Regions from separate parts of the Homo sapiens genome. Here all the other regions are linked to region 2. The links are contacts of gene promoters, found by promoter capture Hi-C in human tissues and cell types (Jung and others, 2019). All regions are on one chromosome and are shown on one strand. The core of a region is centred on a gene start or on the middle of the fragment in contact, and the rest is flanking DNA. Distances in the headings are between cores, read along the strand shown.

The links. The method cuts DNA at HindIII sites, captures the fragments that hold promoters and counts their contacts. A contact is called where the count stands out against the background at its distance.
Region 1: a contact is called between a fragment that was not itself captured here and the fragment with the promoter of CHRM5 in region 2, in 2 of the 25 tissues and cell types used here (heart left ventricle and mesenchymal stem cells).
Region 3: a contact is called between a fragment that was not itself captured here and the fragment with the promoter of CHRM5 in region 2, in 3 of the 25 tissues and cell types used here (dorsolateral prefrontal cortex, lymphoblastoid cells and mesenchymal stem cells).

The regions. Positions count from the first base shown.
Region 1 is chr15:33,826,751-33,830,816 of GRCh38, forward strand. RYR3 (ryanodine receptor 3) reads left to right here. Exons shown (of 104, transcript NM_001036.6): 84 at 1-2; 85 at 449-537. Among named protein-coding and RNA genes, the nearest start is that of CHRM5, 140 kb to the right of the region's middle. The HindIII fragment of the contact is 5,248 bases long and covers 1-4,066 here.
Region 2 is chr15:33,966,829-33,970,507 of GRCh38, forward strand. CHRM5 (cholinergic receptor muscarinic 5) reads left to right here and starts at 1,669. Exons shown (of 3, transcript NM_012125.4): 1 at 1,669-2,322. All of the region lies in intron 2 of AVEN (apoptosis and caspase activation inhibitor), which reads right to left. The HindIII fragment of the contact is 2,452 bases long and covers 257-2,708 here.
Region 3 is chr15:33,779,037-33,782,987 of GRCh38, forward strand. It overlaps RYR3 (ryanodine receptor 3), which reads left to right. Exons shown (of 104, transcript NM_001036.6): 65 at 1,175-1,305. Among named protein-coding and RNA genes, the nearest start is that of CHRM5, 190 kb to the right of the region's middle. The HindIII fragment of the contact is 5,462 bases long and covers 1-3,951 here.

The sequences.
Region 1 (4,066 bases), core at 1,277-3,776, 140 kb before region 2:
TGGTGAGTGGAACAGATTGATCTGCCAAGGAAACACAGCACTCGGGCAAAACTAGAATTCCGTTCAGTATGCCCCATTTGATGCAACTAGTTGTTAACTCAAGGACATCAGTTAATGCGTTCCTCAATAAGAAACTATGTAAATATCATGGCTAGTGATATTTAGTGCCACCAAGGCTAAGCTGCTTCCAGAATCTTCAGATGAGAAATCTAAATACCCAGCCCTTTCCATCTAGCCCCTTGGGGCTCGTTAAGTCCAGTTTCTGGTGTCCGCAGGTTGGGGGGGTGCTCAGAGCAGAGCTCTGCCCTGCAGGATCTGCCATGACCCAAACATGGTATTCTTGTAAGCCTTTTCACATAGAATGTCTTATCTGAGCTCAGCTGAGAGGGCATGCTTGGCCCCCTCGGCATGGCAGGGACAAGCTCTGACCCAGCACTGGTGCTCTCAGACTTTCAGAACTTCCTGCGGACTCAGATGGGCAACACCACCACCGTGAATGTCATCATCAGCACTGTGGACTACCTTCTGCGTCTGCAGGTGAGTGGGAGGGCCTTGGACAATGGGACCTCTCACCTTTGCTTCCAGAAGATAAACACAGTTACACAGGGTCAGGGACAGCCCAGGATACAGTCAAGCCCCTATAAGGAAGGCGTTGTAACGTGTATCCACAGATGCATGGGAAGTCCAGTGCCCAAAGAGTATATTTGAAGACAGAAGTGGGAGACGTGGTTAAACACCAAATCGTCTGTTATGAAATGCTGGTTTACTTTAGTTTTGCCAGTGAAAACCAATCTGTGTTGCTATAAAACAACCAAGAGCTATAACACAACCAAGAGCTCTAAAATAACCTGTGAATGAGAACAGATTTCACTAGAAAAAAAGACTTACACGAGATGATAGGAATAGGATGAGTTTACAAGTTCGTGTTGAGAAGTCAGATGGTTTGTTTCAAGGAAGCCCAAATTATATTGAAAAAATCTACACAAACCTATTAACAAAAAGGGATTTTTTTCCTCTTTGCTGATTCCTCATCCTGGTTCTGCCACTTACTGGTTTGTAACCTAGAGCAATATGTTTAATGTGCCTGTGTTCCAGTTTTTTCATCAGTAAAAGGGGTAGGACCTATGCCATAGGGTGGTAGTAAAGATTGAGAGGTTGGATACAGGCATACCTCATTTTATTGCAGTTGGTATTATTGTGCTTCACAGATGCTGTGTGTTTTACAAATCGAAGGTTTGTGGTAACCCTGCATCAAGCAAGTCTATCTGTGCCGTTTTACCAACAGCATTTACTCACTTGGTGTCTCTGTCACATTTTGATGATTCTCACAATATTTCCAACTTTTCACTATTATATCTATTATGGTGATCTGTGATCAGTGATCTTCGATGTTACTATTGTAATTGTTTTGGGGTGCCATGAACTATGCCCTTGTAAGACAGCAAACTTAATGTTGCATGTGTTCTCACCATTCCACCAACTGTTCCTCCATCTCCCTCCTTCTCCTCAGGCCTTCCTATTCCCTGAGACATAACAGTATTGAAGTTAGGTCAGTTAATTTCCCTACAGTGGCCTCCAAGTGTTCAAGTGAAAGGAAGAGTCACACATCTCCCACTTTAAATCAAAAGCTGGAAATGATTAAGCTTAGTAAGGAAGGCATGTTGAAAGCTAAGACAGGCCAAAGGCTAGGCCCCTTGCACTAAACAGCCAAGCTATGCAAAGAAAAAGTTATTAAAGGACATTAAAAGGGCTGCCTCAGTGAGCATATGAATGATAAGAAAGCAAAACACCCTCATTACTGAAATGGGGACAGTGCGAGTGGTCTGGATAAAAGGTCAAACCAGCCACAACATTCTCATAAGCCACAATCTAATCTAGAGCAGGGCTCTAACTCTCTTCAATTCTATGAAGGCTGAGAGAGGTAAGGAAGCTGCCAAAGAACAGTTTGAAGCTAGCAGAGTTTGGTTCATGAGGTTTAGGGAAAGAAGTCATCTCCAAAACAAAAGTGTAAGGTAAAGCAGCAAGTGCAGATATAGAAGCTGCAGCAAGTTACCCAGAAGATCTATCTAGGATAATTGATGAAGGTGGTCACACTAAACAACAGATTTCCCACGTACATGAAACAGCCTTCTCCTAGAAGAGAGATACCATCTAGGACTTTCATAGTTAGAGAGGACAAGCCAATACCTCACTTCAGAGCTTCAAAGGACAGGCTGACTTTCTTATTAGGGGCAGCCCAGCTGGTAGCTTTAAGTTGAAGCCACTGCTCGTTTACCATTCCAAAAATCCTAGGGCCCTTAAGAATTATGGTAAATCTACTCTGCCCATGCTCTATGTATGGAAAAACAAAGCTTGGATTGTCATCTGTTTACAGCATGATTTACTATTTTAAGCCCACTGTTGACACCAACTGCTCAGAAAAAAAAAAAGATTCCTTTCAAAATATTACTGTTGTTGACTATGCACCTGGTTCCAAGAGCTCTGATGGAGATATACAAGGAAATGAATCTTTTTTTCATGCCTGCTAATACAAGATTTATTCTGCAGCCCATGGATCAAGGAGTAATTTTGACTTGCAAGTCTTATTTTTTAAGAAATGCATTTCGTAAGGCTACAGCTGCTACAGATAGTGATTCCTCTGATGGATCTGGGCACGGTAAGTTGAAAACCTTCTGGAAAGGATTCAACATTGTAGATGTCATTAAAAAACATTGTGGGCCAGGCCCAGTGGCTCGCATCTGTAATCCTAGGACTTTGGGAGGCCAAGGCAGGAGGATCACAAGGTCAGGAGATCGAGACCATCCTGGCTAACACGGTGAAACCCCATCTCTACTAAAAATACAAAAAAAAAAATTAGCCGGGCATGGTGGCGGGTGCCTGTAGTCCCAGCTACTCGGGAGGCTGAGGCAGGAGAATGGCGTGAACCCGGGAGGCGGAGCTTGCAGTGAGCCAGATTGCGCCGCTGCACTCCAGCCTGGGCAACAGAGCGAGACTCTGTCTCAAAAAAAAAAAAAAAAAATTTTGATTCATGGGAGAAGGTCAAATATCAACATTAACAGGACTTGAGGAAGTTGATTGCAACCCTTGTGGGTGATTTGGAGGGGTTTGAGACTTCAGTGGAGGAAATAAATGCAGACGTGTTGGAAATAGCAAGAGAACTAGAATTAGTAGTGGAGCCTGAAGAACATGAACCTGAATTGCTGCAATCTCATGATCAAACTTTGACAAACGAAGAGTTTCCTCTCATGGATGAGCAAAGAAAGTGGTTTCTTGAGATGGAGTCTTCCTGGTGAAGATGCTCTAAACATTGTTGAAATGCCAAAAAGGGATTTAAAATTGTAAACTTAGTTGATAAGGAGTGGCAAGGTTTGAGAAGACTGACTCCAATTTTGAAAGAAGTTCTGTGGGTAAAATGCTATCAAGCAGTACATGCGTCTTTCATGAAAGGAAGTCAGTTGATGCAGTTAACACTGTCTTATTTCAAGAAATTGCCACAGCCACCTCAACCTTCAGCAGCCACCACCCTGTTTAGTCAGTAGCCATCAACATCAAGGCAAGACCTTTCACCAGCAAAAAGATGGTGGAACTTACAACTTGCTGAGAGCTCAGGTGATTGTTAGCACTTTTTAGCAATAAAGTATTTTTTAATGATGGCACGTACATTGTTTTTTAAAGACATAATGCTATTGCACACTTAATAGACTACAGCATATTGTAAACATAACTTTGATGTACGCTGAGAAATCAACATTTTGTATGACTCACTTTATTGTAATGTTCACTTTACTGTAGTTTATCTGTAATCAAACTCGGATTATCTCTGAATCTCTACATGCCTGTATATGTAATGTACTCAGAACAACGTCTGGCACTTACAATATTAGCTATTATGTTGTTGCTGTTACTATGATTATTTGGATAATTACCATTATCTTCACATATTTCACATTGAGTAAATTATCCTATTTCATAGTCTCCAAGTTCCAGCTGAAGGCAGTCCTCACTCCTATCTATTCTTTCCTCTGCAGGGATATTTGTGCATGAAAGATCCTAGAGACCTGGTATC
Region 2 (3,679 bases), core at 419-2,918:
TAGAAAAATTAAAATCCATTGGGAAGAAACCTTGACATTAATGAAAAACATATATAATATTATAGTCATCGATCCTCATAAACACAATGGCCCCATTTGATAGATTTTTACTTCTCTCATTTTGGATCTCCACTGAACTCTAAGTCACATTCAATCATTGAAATGGCTTAATAATCAGTGGCTTAAAACTTGGGGTATTTATTATAGAAGTGACCAGTATATAATGACCAATCATTACCATATGAAATTACAATCCTTTTCAGTATCATGCAATGTTAAGTGGGAAAAGTTCAAGAAAATATTCTAAAGATATGTTCTCTTGCATAAATATTCCTATTACAAATGTGTGTCAAAGACCACTATAAAACTAAAATTCACTTCTTTCTCATACATGTTCATCTGTCAGTGTTTAAAATTCTATTGGCTAACAATTAAAGTGTATACTTTGTCTGGATTCTCACTCAGAAAAAACCTACATAAAGACATAGTTTCTGAGACACAAGGAATTTAAAATGAACTGGATATTATATGACTCCAGAGGATTATAGCCAATGTGTTAGGTGTGATAATGGCACAGGGTCATGTGAAAAAGTGTCCATACTTTAAAAATATACATACTAAAGTACAAATAGGTGAAATGAGATTTGCTTTAAAATATTTTAGCAAAGAATTGAATCTGACAATTGTTGAATCTTGGTAATGAGTTTCTGGAGGTTCATGTATTATTTTTGTATTATTTTTCAGAGTTTTGTGTAAGTTTGAAATGTTCCATAATAATTTTTTAAAATTTAAAAACATTATATTGTCTAGATACACTCATAAAGAACTCAGGCAGGGAAAAAACGTTTAAATTTAAAATTTAAATTTTAAACTGAAGTGCAGTTTTAAAAATTTGAATTTTAAATTTAAAAACTGAAGTGCAAAAATTATGAAATTGACATTTAAAAATCTATTCTTTTATACAGCTAATATGGATTTCATCTAACTTAAGGAAAAGCTTTAATGAAGACCCTGTTAAAAGTTTGTATCAAATGAGGACTTATAATGCTTTACTCCAAAGCAACAAAACGCATATGCCCAAAAGATGTATAAAAACAGGCATACATTTAGGAAAAAAAAAAAAGGCAGCCTTTTCTCTGCTACAAATATTTAAAACTCACAGTATACTCTTTCTATCTCAAAGACTTTTAAAAATTATTTTCCATCTTTAGGGAAAACCATATGAGAAAATAACTCAGCAACATGTCTGTGAATAATGCCTAGCAAAGCTTAAAAAAAAAAAAAAAAAAAAAAAAAAGCTTCTAGCCAAAAAGACTAACAGGAAAAAATGAACATTTTCAAAAGCATTTTGGAACCTTATTCCAGCTACCTCCATGCTAAGCCCTCTTTTTCCTCCCAAAATACGTCACTTAACTGTCTGTCAAATAACTCTTGCCCATTCTACCTGATCACACTCTGAAGCTGCAGCTTTTCCTGGATTCTCTTCTCAATGACAAGCTGTTCAAACAGAGAACACCTATCAAAACGAATATCATCATCTGCTCCTTTCTTTCTTCCTTTCAGGATATACTGCTGTCCAGCAGGGGAAGTAATTAATGAGTTTTTTATGTATGGCAGCGTCATCCCATCAGTTTGCTGTCTGGTTTGAATAGCTCCTATCAGCTCTTCATTCATGCCAAGTACGCTCACCGTCCAGAGACATGATAAAGCCGTACTTCCTTCTGGATTTTTACCTCACTATTCAAAAAACAGGGTACCAGAAGCATGGGTTACAAAAGCATGAGGAGGACAGAAGAAATGCCTTCATCTTCTACAGAAAGGAAGCTGATGGACTGAAAAGTTCGTATGGAGAAAGGAAAGCAAGAGTGCAAGAACATCCATGCTTCTAGTCCAGATAATGTTTTTTAAAGCAGCTTGATTTGGAAGCGTGTGTAATTCTGAAATACGAACAAGCAGAACTTTTCCAGGGGGTCAAATGCATATAGGAACAACCAGGATTTCTCATTGCTGAAGCATTCAATGAATCTTTAATAAGTTCTCAACACTCAGATTGTTTGTGATCAGATCAACTGCTGTTACCAGATAAAGGCAAAACTCACCCTTCTGGTTCTATAATCCTATCCAAATGGAGTCTTCATCTACCGCATACTATCCTAACTAATGCTACAGGATTATCAGGAATACAGATATAAAGACACTGCAAGAAATAAAACACTGGCAAAATAAAACATGAAAGGAAAGTAGAGAAGGCATTTTGGGTCTCGAAGCTTACTATTTCCAGCCAGAGTTCAAATTACTGAGCTTCAAACAAACCACTGCCAGGTAAGATTTAATTTTATAACCTTAATTTATATCTTGTCTACTGAAATTAAATCTGCTCGTGCTGTGAATGAGATAGTGGATTTGAATTTCTTGCAACCCTTCCTTAAGCTTTTGCAGATTTAAGCTGAGGTAAACGCTTGTTTTTACTTATGCTGCATAAACAAGTCACTCAGAACTAGATAATAAAGCATCCAAAACTCCCATTCATTTTTCATTGAATTTGTCTCATCTTTGTCTTTATTTTTATCCCAATTTTGTTTTATTTAATAGCTTGAAAAAAATGCATGAAGAGAGCCCTGAATGGTGCATAAGAGCCATTCACAGATAATGTTTACCAACAATATTCAAATGAACTTAGTTTCCCAGAGTACTTGATAAAACAAAGAAAAATTAATAAGCATTTTAAATATTTTTATTCATATAAAGGAACAAAAGCTCAATGACTGATTTCTATTGTTACTAAGAAAAAAAAGCTGTGATGTCATTTCATTCATACTAAAGAAAAATAATCTCTACTAAATCGAGGTATAACACTCTTGTAGGATAGGGCTAATTTATCCTAAAGATACTAGACATTTTTATAACAGACTAAATGAAGACATTTTTCTGATTCAACAAGAGGATAAAAAGATGAAAGATGTCTGGTACCTTAAAACCTCAAAAGCTTTGACTCAGGTCAGTGGTCCAAACTGTAAAATGCAAAGCACTAGTGAAGCCATCAAAGGATTTTAAAAGATACAGTGCCTTTAAGAAATTCCCTAGAAATCACTGCATAATGAGACTTCTAGAGTGACAATCTTATGTAAAAACAACAAAACGTTATCATTTAGCAGAAATCCCAACCACATTGGTTTTCATGAGTTTCATTGGAAAACTTAGGTCCAAAGCACCTTATCATAAAGAAGTCCTACAACAAATAATATTTATATTATCTTAGAAGAGAGGAGACAGGGAAACAAGAGCATATCACACCTAACTACGGAGATCTTGTGGTAATATACATAAAGTTATCAGAAGTAAGTATTCAATACTTGTCTAAAAGTAGTCAAATTAGAAATTCTCTTCCATTTCACTGAATTCTTTCCTTTTTTCAAATTTTAGTTAAGGGAGTAAATTATATGATCCCTTCAGGCTTTTCAAGACAGTCTATAAATAACCTTAAATATCATAAGTCTTTTACATCTGAAGTCATTACAGAAACTTACCTGTCATTTTCCAGTACCAAAGGAAAGCAGCAATTTAATACAAGTAGTGATTATCTAATACAACAATTTGTTTCAGAGAAAAAAATGTTTATTTAGAAATCTCAAAATACTTCTTATGCATACCAGACATAACTAAAAGTTAAGGGTGGTAT
Region 3 (3,951 bases), core at 410-2,909, 190 kb before region 2:
CTTTTCGAAGGAATGCACAGCTTTCTGCCAACTCACCCACCCTTCCCTCCTCCTTCTCTCTAGTTCAGCAGATTTATATCTCAAGGAGAGCACTTCTATATACCCTAGATTTGCTGTCTGCAGATTCTATCATAGTCTTGTGCAGTCATTTTTCTTCAAGACCAGTTAAGATCACAATTTTTCTTTTCTTTTCTTTTTTTTTCTTTTTGAGTTGGAGTCTTGCCCTGTCACCAAGGCTGGAGTGCAATGGTGTGATCTCAAGCCTTTTGTTTTTGTTTGTTTGCTTGCTTCACAGGAAGACTTAAGAACCAGACCTTAAGATATGGTGGACAGTCAACTATTTGTACAAAAGAGGGAAAGGAGTAACCGTTATCTGAGGTCTCTCCTGTAAATCAAGCAGTAGGTTTTAGGACCTATTGTTTCTGTTGTAAGGGCAGGTCTTTTATTTTTGTGTCTCATTGGTGCTTTGGTGTGCTACCTACTGTTCCCACTAGTGGACACAGGCTCCATCCATAGCAGAGAAGAGACACAGAGAAATTACACAGATTTCAAAGCATTTTTGAGAACAGGGAAGGATCCATCTCAATTTGGATACCAGCAGAACTTGCTCTCACACATGCTGGGAGAGAGGGACAAAGCCGCACAGTGTGTTATATCATCTTAACCAGTTAAGAACTAGGATCTGGCCGGGCGTGGTGGCTCACGCCTGTAGTCCCAGCACTTTGGGAGGCCGAGGCGGGCAGATCACAAGGTCAGGAGATCGAGACCATCCTGGCCAACATGGCGAAACCCCGTCTCTACTAAAAAAAAAAATAGAAAAAGAAATTAACCGGGCATGGTGGTGGGCGCATGTAGTGCCAGCTACTCGGGAGGCTGAGGCAGGAGAATGGCGTGAACCTGGGAGGCGGAGCTTGCAGTGAGCTGATATCGCGCCACTGCACTCCAGCCTGGGTGACAGAGCAAGACTCCGTCTCAAAAAAAAAGAACTAGGATCTAAGCAGTGAGAGCATTGGTTAGTGTCTAGAGAAAGAGGAGGGGAAGAAGTGCATGCAAGCTTGCTGAGCCTAGTGCCTAGGGATGTCCATGGATTAATCTATGGGGAAGGCCTGATCTGCCAATGCATGGGGCCAGCATGTGGGGGGCCACACTTCTCAATGGACTTCTTTGTTTCCAGGCAACGCCCTGCCCTTGGAGAATGTCTGGCCTCGCTGGCAGCTGCCATACCAGTGGCATTCCTGGAGCCCACCCTTAATCGCTACAATCCACTCTCGGTCTTCAACACCAAAACCCCCAGGGAGAGGTCTAGTAAGTATCTCCCCTCAAAGGTCATCAACCCATTTCATGTGCTGAGAGGAGAGGAGCCACACAGGCAGGGAGCAGCAGCCCTGCAGCACTGTGGCTTTCTTGGTCTGAGAGGAGCCAGGAGGTGAGGTTAGGGACTAGGTTGCAGGTCTGCATCTTACTGGAGAAATAAGCATGGGCAAGGCTTTGTTATAATTAGGCTTTGGTTTCCTCTTCTCTAAAGTGAGGAGTCAGTGTTGCTGATTTTGAAATCCTTTCCATCCTAAGACCTCAGGGTCTCTTGTCTGCTCTGGGTTTCAGTTCCCCCTCTGCACCTGGGGATGTGACTCCTTTTTTGCAGTGCCTCTCCAGAGTGGTATCAGAAGGTGCACATCCACAGTAATAACCCAGTTATACTCTTCAAGTCCATGGAGAGGCGTGCTTCTAAAGATGCTGATGACACATTTTTGTCCTCATGGAAGATAAGACATAGAAAAGCACCAAAAGGAAGAGAAAGTGTACAAGAAAGAATATTTCTTAGCAAACATATTGACACGCTAGGTTCCACAACAGGGTGGCAAACTATGACCACAGGGCAAATTTGGCCCCCTGCCTATTTTTGTAAATAAAGTTTTATTTGAACACAACCACACCTACTTACGTACATTTGGTCTGTGGCTGCTTTAGCACGACAATGGCAGAGTTGAGTAGAGGCAGGAAAGTTTGGCCCGCGAGGCCTAAAATATTTACTATCTGGCCCTCTACAGGAAACGTTTTCCACCCTCTTTTGTAAAATGATCCTGGAACTAAAATCCAAGGCAGGTTGTAAATCTGCTTCTGGAGGGTGCTTGTATCTGGGTTAATTGTGATCCTGCCTAAGGATAAGGGAATAGAATAGAGGAGCTTCAAGTAGGAGCCTTGAATCAAGCTTGGACTCCAACTAGAAAGAACTGCGATGATTCCATCTATTCTGAAGCAAAAATTACCCAACTGTAGGCTAATCAATATTAAGGGAAAACAAGCTACAGTAAATTATTTTCAACCAGAGCTTTTTCTATTCAGAACCAATGTTTTCTTAAAATATTGCTATACACTACCAGTAGATGTCTGGACGTGGTAGCAATTCCATTTAGTTCAAGCCCCCTTTCTCAAACTGCCATGAGATTTAAGGAAGAAGCATTCTGAGCAAGAAAGGGCTCATGCCACACTTTTCTTTGCCACTGCTGTTTTTTTCATCTAAAAATGCGAAGTGCTAAGCCATGGCAGCTTTATTCCCACTCGCTTCTTGTTACTTCAGGTAAGAGGAGCACATTGCCCCCCAGAAATGATCACCAGGACAATTCAGATAAGGCCACTAATAAAAATCTTTCACTGAGCTAGAATACAGTGGAGACTAGTGTTCTCAGAGGTAGTCAAGAGAAACATTGCCAAGATGCCTCAACTTTCCAAAGTCCCGTATGAAATCTATAAGTTAACCTTTCCTCAACCGCTTCAGCCTCATCTCACCCTTTCTTCCCTTTGAAATTAGCAAAAAAAAAAAAAGGGGGGGGGGATTTCCAACCTTTTTTTTACTTCCCACTCCTGATTCCAAATGAGTCCTGGCTTTCCACCAAAGTGGAAGCTGAGCAGCAGAGCAGACTTTGGTGAAGTTGAGAAGTGGCTGTGACATCTCCAGGCAAATGCCAGCCCAGGTGTTGCTTCCTGACTCCAAAGGGACATGGGGCCCAGTCATGACAGTTCTGGATATGTATACATTTATTCTGCTTCAACTGTGACTTGAGAAATAGTGTATCTCTGTCTCTATACCAGCACTGTGTAGAGCTTCACCTGGGGAAAGAGAGAAACTGCCTCTGCTCTTTAGTTCATAAAGGCACAGTAGCAGGGTGAAATGAGGATGTGACAAAGATAGAGGAAAGCCTAGGTTAGCTTTGGGAGGGAGGGGAATTAGTCTCTTGCATTGTGCTCCTTCCCAAGAGCTATTTGAAAAGTGTTCCTTTTCATTCTATATACCTTTGCATTGATTTGATAAGACATATTCATAAATAAAAAATGACTCCCCACCATTGCATATTCCAAAGGAAGAAAAGAGACAAGGTTGTAATTAGAGATGACACAGTCCTTTATCCATTAGCGACACACTATGGGACTCTATGTCCAGCTCCCCTGAGCCCATGTCTTTCATCACTGGCTTTAGCAAAGAGTGGATGCTGACCGTGTATATGGCTCTTAAAAAGTTTATCTAGAGCCGGAGAATGACTGTTGGCTTAATGAGCTGTAAGAAGGTAGACTTCATTCATTACAAAGTGGGTGGCCTGAGGGATAAAGGGCGGGGAGGAATGTATAAGGTGACAGGTGATGTGAGCCTGTGATTTAGAAATACAGTATGAACTGATTTATCATGTCTTCAGTTAATTGGGCATCTCTATTAATTGACACTTGATGCTTTGCCAGCAGAATTACTCAGATTAGTATCTTTGATGCCCTATAACATCCTGGTGCATTTTCTTCCTTATCCAAAAATTATTAAGATATACCTAGAAAAAGTTTAATACTGTTATGAGTCAGTTATTCAAAACTAGTTAAATCCTTAGTTATGGGTGGCAGTGATCTATTAATCAGAACACTAGATGTCAGACCAAAGCATCCTATTACCAGTCAGTTTGCTTTTCT